Regions from separate parts of the Homo sapiens genome. Here region 1 is linked to region 2. Evidence: promoter capture Hi-C in human tissues and cell types (Jung and others, 2019). All regions are on one chromosome and are shown on one strand. Each heading gives the region's core, a stretch centred on a gene start or on the middle of the fragment in contact. The rest is flanking DNA. Distances are from core to core; before and after follow the strand shown.

What was found. Contacts are between HindIII fragments. The study calls those that stand out against the background at their distance.
Region 1: a fragment that was not itself captured here is called in contact with the fragment with the promoter of RND1 in region 2 in 3 of the 25 tissues and cell types used here (adrenal gland, dorsolateral prefrontal cortex and lymphoblastoid cells).

What each region holds. Positions count from the first base shown.
Region 1 is chr12:49,040,024-49,042,523 of GRCh38, reverse strand. KMT2D (lysine methyltransferase 2D) reads left to right here. Exons shown (of 55, transcript NM_003482.4): 29 at 194-435; 30 at 534-607; 31 at 819-869; 32 at 989-2,500. Among named protein-coding and RNA genes, the nearest start is that of KMT2D, 20 kb to the left of the region's middle. The HindIII fragment of the contact is 6,740 bases long and covers 1-2,500 here.
Region 2 is chr12:48,863,497-48,868,774 of GRCh38, reverse strand. RND1 (Rho family GTPase 1) reads left to right here and starts at 2,905. Exons shown (of 5, transcript NM_014470.4): 1 at 2,905-3,127; 2 at 3,905-3,992. The coding sequence starts at 3,008. RefSeq lists enhancers at 2,582-2,711, 2,972-3,091. The HindIII fragment of the contact is 19,361 bases long and covers 1-5,278 here.

The sequences.
Region 1 (2,500 bases), core at 1-2,500, 180 kb before region 2:
TTGTCCTTTCCCTCCATCTGAGTTCATGCTTTGCCTCCCTCGGACTCCTGCAGCACTTCCCCTGCTCCTCCCCATTCCCTTGTTAGTGACCCTCCTCTTTTGGGGCAGGGCAGTGGCCTGGGGCTCTAGGCAGTTTGTCTGGGGTGGGACTTGGCATCCCTGCGCCCTGTGACTCTCTGCCCCTGCGCCCCAGGGAGCGCGGGGGCTTCTTTAGCCCGGAACCCGGTGAGCCCGACAGCCCCTGGACGGGCTCAGGTGGCACCACGCCCTCCACCCCCACAACCCCCACCACGGAGGGTGAGGGCGACGGACTCTCCTATAACCAGCGGAGTCTTCAGCGCTGGGAGAAGGATGAGGAGTTGGGCCAGCTGTCCACCATCTCACCTGTGCTCTATGCCAACATTAATTTTCCTAATCTCAAGCAAGACTACCCAGGTACCTGTGGGATGAGGGCAAGGGAGACAGCCTGGCAACATGGCAGGTGGAGGAGTCGCCTGCCAAGTCTTCTCTGACTCACTCTCTCTGCCCTCCAGACTGGTCAAGCCGTTGCAAACAAATCATGAAGCTCTGGAGAAAGGTTCCAGCAGCTGACAAAGCCCCCTACCTGGTGAGGCAGAAAGGAGCATGGATTAGCGTGGGAACTGAGAGGGAGGGAGGGATCTTTGGGTAATTTACCTCAGTTCTTTCCGCTCCCCACTCCTAAAGCAGCTGGGCCAGAAGGGATCTGCTTCTGGGTAGGGAGTGTGAAAACACTACAGTATGGGGGCGGGGCATGAGACCAAGCACTAGGCCCTAAGGCTGTGTCCCATATCCCTCAGCAAAAGGCCAAAGATAACCGGGCAGCTCACCGCATCAACAAGGTGCAGAAGGTGAGTGGGGCTGGGCTGGGGTGTAGCAGTCCTCTAGTGGGTGGCCTCTCTTGAGGGTGGAGGGCCATGGGGCCTGCCTGCAGCAGCCTGACTGCCCTATGCCTGGTCTCCCCCTGTAGCAGGCTGAGAGCCAGATCAACAAGCAGACCAAGGTGGGCGACATAGCCCGTAAGACTGACCGACCGGCCCTACATCTCCGCATTCCCCCGCAGCCAGGGGCACTGGGCAGCCCGCCCCCCGCTGCTGCCCCCACCATTTTCATTGGCAGCCCCACTACCCCCGCCGGCTTGTCTACCTCTGCGGACGGGTTCCTGAAGCCGCCGGCGGGCTCGGTGCCTGGCCCTGACTCGCCTGGTGAGCTCTTCCTCAAGCTCCCACCCCAGGTGCCCGCCCAAGTGCCTTCGCAGGACCCCTTTGGACTGGCCCCTGCCTATCCCCTGGAGCCCCGCTTCCCCACGGCACCGCCCACCTATCCCCCCTATCCTAGTCCTACGGGGGCCCCTGCGCAGCCCCCGATGCTGGGCGCCTCATCTCGTCCTGGGGCTGGCCAGCCAGGGGAATTCCACACTACCCCACCTGGCACCCCCAGACACCAGCCCTCCACACCTGACCCATTCCTCAAACCCCGCTGCCCCTCGCTGGATAACTTGGCTGTGCCTGAGAGCCCTGGGGTAGGGGGAGGCAAAGCTTCCGAGCCCCTGCTCTCGCCCCCACCTTTTGGGGAGTCCCGGAAGGCCCTAGAGGTGAAGAAGGAAGAGCTTGGGGCATCCTCTCCTAGCTATGGGCCCCCAAACCTGGGCTTTGTTGACTCACCCTCCTCAGGCACCCACCTGGGTGGCCTGGAGTTAAAGACACCTGATGTCTTCAAAGCCCCCCTGACCCCTCGGGCATCTCAGGTAGAGCCCCAGAGCCCGGGCTTGGGCCTAAGGCCCCAGGAGCCACCCCCTGCCCAGGCTTTGGCACCTTCTCCTCCAAGTCACCCAGACATCTTTCGCCCTGGCTCCTACACTGACCCATATGCTCAGCCCCCATTGACTCCTCGGCCCCAACCTCCGCCCCCTGAGAGCTGCTGTGCTCTGCCCCCTCGCTCACTGCCCTCCGACCCTTTCTCCCGAGTGCCTGCCAGTCCTCAGTCCCAGTCCAGCTCCCAGTCTCCACTGACACCCCGGCCTCTGTCTGCTGAAGCTTTTTGCCCATCACCCGTTACCCCTCGCTTCCAGTCCCCTGACCCTTATTCTCGCCCACCCTCACGCCCTCAGTCCCGTGACCCATTTGCCCCATTGCATAAGCCACCCCGACCCCAGCCCCCTGAAGTTGCCTTTAAGGCTGGGTCTCTAGCCCACACTTCGCTGGGGGCTGGGGGGTTCCCAGCAGCCCTGCCCGCGGGGCCAGCAGGTGAGCTCCATGCCAAGGTCCCAAGTGGGCAGCCCCCCAATTTTGTCCGGTCCCCTGGGACGGGTGCATTTGTGGGCACCCCCTCTCCCATGCGTTTCACTTTCCCTCAGGCAGTAGGGGAGCCTTCCCTAAAGCCCCCTGTCCCTCAGCCTGGTCTCCCGCCACCCCATGGGATCAACAGCCATTTTGGGCCCGGCCCCACCTTGGGCAAGCCTCAAAGCACAAACTACACAGTA
Region 2 (5,278 bases), core at 1,656-4,155:
AGACTGAAGGTAGGGGACAGGAGGATACAGAAGGAGAAGGTCAGGCTGAGGGAAAGGACTCCAGATTGAGGCAGTCTATGATCTTACAGCTGTTCCTGGAACTATCCCAAACCCCACTTATAGACAGCTCACAGAGGCTGTCAGGCTGCTGGAAAAGGGCAAGAAGAGGACAAATTCTATCCACAGAACATTATCTGAGGGTGGAGGATGAGGGGAGATAAAGGGCAGAAACCTTCAGAAAGCCTGGGAGAGACGGCAGCCAGCTAATGGTAACATCTGGCCTTTCCACCCTGAAGTTTCCCTCAGGCCATTCCCCATCCCTGGAAGTGAATGGAGCTTAGGACATGGGTGGAGAGCAGGTATAGGCCTTGGCCCCAGAGCCACGACGAGGTTTGACTGGAGGAACACTGGTTAGGCTGTATTCTCAAAACAACATCCACTCTCCTACTGCCTGTGGTGGGCACTAGAAATCTCATTCTTAGAGATCTGTCCCTTTGGGTCTGTGAAAGGCTTTCAAGCATCCTTTATCACAGGGAAACTATCCCTGGGTGGGGCAGCAACAACTGTGAATTAAGAGTAAAGCTCAGGCTGGGGCACAGTGGCTCACGCCTGTAACCCCAGCACTTTGGGAGGCCGAGGCAGGTGGATCACCTAAGGTTAGGAGTTTATGACCAGCCTGGCCAACATGGCGAAACCCCATCTCTACTCAAAATACAAAAATTAGCTGGGTGTGGTGGCAGGCACCTGTAATCCCAGCTACTCGGGAGGCTGAGGTAGGAGAATCGATTGAACCCGGCGGGCACAGTTTGCAGTGAGCCGAGATTGTGGCACTGCATTCCAGCCTGGGTGAAAGAGCAAGACTCTGTATAAAAAAAAAAAAAAAGTAAAGCTCAGATGAAACAAGGCCCAGGAGACACTGGGCTTGACAAGGGAAAGGGACTACTCTCAATTTTGCCCAAAGTTGGTCTTCCTTCAATCACAAATCTCCAGGAGCCCTTATTTGTACGGTCTTGATTCCTGGACAATCAGTGGTTTATTTAAGCTGTGGACAGCCCATAGTTCTGTCTAGTAGAGGCTCCCCAAAATACAGGGGCCCCATCAGTCAGGGCTGTTAAGAAGTTATGAAGCTCGGCTGGGCGCGGTGGCTCACGCCTGTAATCCCAGCACTTTGGGAGGCCGATGTGGGTGGATCACTTAAGGTCAGGAGTTTGAGACCAGCCTGACCAATATGGTGAAACCCTGTCTCTACTGAAAATACAAAAATTAGCCAGGCATGGTGACGTGCGCCTGTAGTCTCAGCTACTCGGGAGGCTGAGACAGGAGAATTGCTTGAACCCGGGAGGCAGAGGTTGCAGTGAACTGAGATCAAGCCACTGCACTCCAGCCCGGGTAACAGAGCGAGACTCCATCTCAAAAAAAAAAAAAAAAAAAATTTATGTAGTTCATCTCAACCTTAGATTGTCCTCCAGCTTCTAATCCCAAAATCCTGGGCCCAGTCTGGACTTTAACCAGGTGACACACATTAGTGCGTCAGTTTCAGTGGGCGTTAACATGGAACTGGACCTGTGCCTGATTCATCCAGGAAGCTGAGCCTAGGCCGCAGAACAAACACCCCTAAGCAGCTTCTGCTAGGCATGGGTGAGAGGCTGTCTGGCCAAACAGTGACTGTGTTTGCTTTGTCTTCTTCCTCTCTCCCACCCCCACTTGCCAGAGTCCCTCATTTCTCTCTGCCCATCACTGGGTCAGGTGCTGTGTGTTTTTTTTATGGATGACTCTAGAAAGTTTTCTCTTTCTCTTTCTCTCTCTCTGTCTTTGGTGGTGAAGGTGATTCTTGAAGAAGAGAAGGCTTTAAAAGGGGCACAGGCCGGGCACGGTGGCTGACGCCTATAATCCCAGCACTTTGGGAGGCCAAGGCGGGCGGATCGCCTGAGGTCGGGAGTTCGAGACCAGCCTGACCAACATGGAGAAACCCCGTCTCTACTAAAAATACAACATTAGCTGGGCATGGTGGTGCATGCCTGTAATCCCAGCTACTCGGGAGGCTGAGGCAGGAGAATCGCTTGAATCCGGGAGATGGAGGTTGCAGTGAGCTGAGATCGTGCCATTGCACTCCAGCCTGGGCAACAAGAGCGAAACTCCATCTCAAAATAAATAAATAAATAAATAAATAAATAAATAAATAAATAAATAAATAAATAAAAGAGGTACAGCAGGAGCTGATATTGGGAGGGGAAATAAAGGGAAGTAAGAACTGGTTTGGATGGGAATTAGAAAAAACAAAAAAGTCAGACATCAGGCCAGGCGCTGTGGCTCATGTCTGTAGTCCCAGCACTTTGGGAGGCTGAGACAGGCGGATTGCTTGAGCCCAGAAGTTCAAGACCAGCCTGGATAACATGGTGAGACCCCTGTCTCTATTTAAAACAAAAGATGTAAGGAAAAAAAAGAAAAAAAATGTCAGAGAAGTTCTGGGCCACCTCCCCCATCCCCTACTCCTCCAAAACACACACACACACACACACCTGTCTATAGTCTAAGCAGGTCCTGCTTTTGTAACCCACCCGGGACAGTCCCTGCAACTCCAGCCTGACCTCACTTCCTGCTTCCATAGCTAGTTTGTTTTTCTGACACTTATTGGTAGACACTCCAGATCATTTCATTTTGCTTCCAGTACCCTTTCCACTTCCTAATACAAATGCAAAACAACCTGGGAATCCCCTTTCAGGGGGAAACAACGGTGCAGCTTTAAGAGAAAGAGAAGGGAGGAAGGGGGCGCTGACTCAGATCCTCAGATCCATTGGCTGCTGGAGGGAATCCCACCTCAGGGATTGGGCGTAACAGAGTCCGCCTCCTCTTGTGATTGGCTCAGCCAGAAAAATAAAAGGCGGCTGTGCCGGCCTCCTCCTCAGTTGGAGGGAGGCAGGGAATCTGGCTTGATTGGCGTGCTGAGACGCACCTGGCGCAACCCTCCCTTCTGAATCGAAGTTCAAGTCCCGCGGACACTGCAACCATGAAGGAGAGACGGGCCCCCCAGCCAGTCGTGGCCAGATGTAAGCTCGTTCTGGTCGGGGACGTGCAGTGTGGGAAGACCGCGATGTTGCAAGTGTTAGCGAAGGATTGCTATCCAGAGGTGAGCTGCCCGCCCGCCCGCTGGCCGGCTTTTCTCCCTGCCTGCCCGCCTTGGGGTAGATTTCCACCTGCTCAGGAGACGTGGCTCCCCCAGCCCCAGCCCATCCTCAGCCGCTTTCTGAGGCTTTACCATCCTCAGCTGCTTTTTGGCTGGAGGACTGCCCTGCCTTAGCTTCCCCTGAGACCTGTTCCACTTCTGCCGCCCCGCTGGCTCCTCCTCACCTCTTCACCCAGAGGACCCATCAGATCCCCTCCACCTTCCTGCGTCCCTGGAGTCTGCTCTCAGGTGAGGGCACTGGAGGCATTTGAAAGTCTGGGGTTTCTTCTTGACGTAATCCCTGCCTATCCGCTCACCTGCTCCTCAAAGGCTCTATGCCTGTGCCTTCAGGCAGGCTTCTGCAGCCCCTCTGTTCACCTGGCCGGGAGGGGTTTGAGAGGAGATGAGCTAGGATTGGCTTTGGCCTGTGGCTCTCTCAAATTGGGAAACACAAATCTGGGGATGGGAGGAATCTGTGTGTGTGTGTGTCCCTGATCGCCTAGGATATGGGGGGCTTACCCCTGGTGTGGTGGTGTGGGGGGGTGTCATTCACATTTCTCACTGCTGCAGAGCAAAGTGCCTGGTCCTCCACAGTCCCTTCCCTCCTGCCCCAGGCATCTCCTCTGGTTTCTTGTCTCCTGTGACTTTACTGTCTCTCTGGTGAGTGCGTGTGTAGCCAGCACTAACCAGGGGATCTGAGGGTAGGGGTGCATGGGGTGAATGTTTCCTCTCTTTTCACAGACCTATGTGCCCACCGTGTTCGAAAATTACACAGCCTGTTTGGAGACAGAGGAACAGAGGGTGGAGCTTAGTCTCTGGGATACCTCAGGTAAGAATTCTGCTCCAAATACCCCTTTCCCACCCCTACTGGTCTGCTGTGTAGCTGCTGTCTTTTAGAAATTGTTTTCCCCTTTGGTGGGGAGAAGTGAAAAAAGAGGATCTGAAGACTCATTAGTTGTGGGGAGGGCTGACAGTTGGTGGACTCAGTTGCATGGTCCAAGGGTGCAGAGTGGGTGAACCCCAGGAGCCACTCTCTTCCCTGGGTCTGGTTCCACCCTTTAGAGGGCTGGGATGGTGAGGTGAAGGGACCCATGAATAGTCCTGGGGGTGGGCAGTAAAACAGGACTTCTCCATTTCCATTCCCTACCACCCAACATGCACGCGTACACACATGCACACACACGCGCGCGCGCGCACACACACACACACACACACACACACACACACCTTTTACTTCCCCAGAGCAAAGCCAAATAAGAGGCAAGAGGCAGTGCTGCTGGAGGCAGCGTGGTTGGGGCGGAGAGACAAGTCTGCTTTGGGGAAAGGTTGCTCAGACTCAGTTTTGTCTCCTGCATTCCATCTTGGGCCACTGCTGTCCTCCTGCCGCAGCTCAGCCCCACTCGTCACACCGCTGCAGCTCGGGGATGAAGCAATGCATCATCGATGTTTTGGAAGTTGGGGGAGATGGCTTAATATAGGGCATAGTCAGTTGTGAATAGTGGCCGGCAGGGCAGAGGGGAGGTTGGCTCTGACTGTTTTCCCTCTACTGGGGTGAGGTAGAATATGCCCTGTCTCTCTAGAATGTAGAAACAATGTTTTTCCAGCCTCTCAGCCCCAAGCCCTTAGTGCTAGGCTATCCTTTGCCTTGATTCTGACCCCTTCCCATTATCTCTTTACCCCAGACCTTTTTCAATAGACTGGCTCAGAGTCATAATTAAGGAGTAAAAGCCGGGAATAAGAGAAAGAAAATAAAATCCACCCCTCCCCAAAAATGCATATTCAGGCTGAGTTTAAAAAGGGACCGTAAATCACTAGGTGTTTCCTGCTACATATAATAAATATGCTGTCCTGCTCCTTCAACAGCTGTTGTTCCCATGCTCTAATTCTGAGGTCTGAAAAGATTGGGGCTAGGGAATGGTTAGACAGACAATGAGCCTTTCCTCCCCAAACAAAAATTCCCCAATCTGGTATGCTTTTCCCTGTTGCAGTTTCAGGGCTTGGGAGGCAGCGTTCTGGTTCTCCTGGGCTGTGCTATGCTGGCAAGATTGGGCTAGAATGCAGCTTGATGGCATGATGTATAATTTTTGGTTTTTCATCTGCTGTACCCTCCCACCT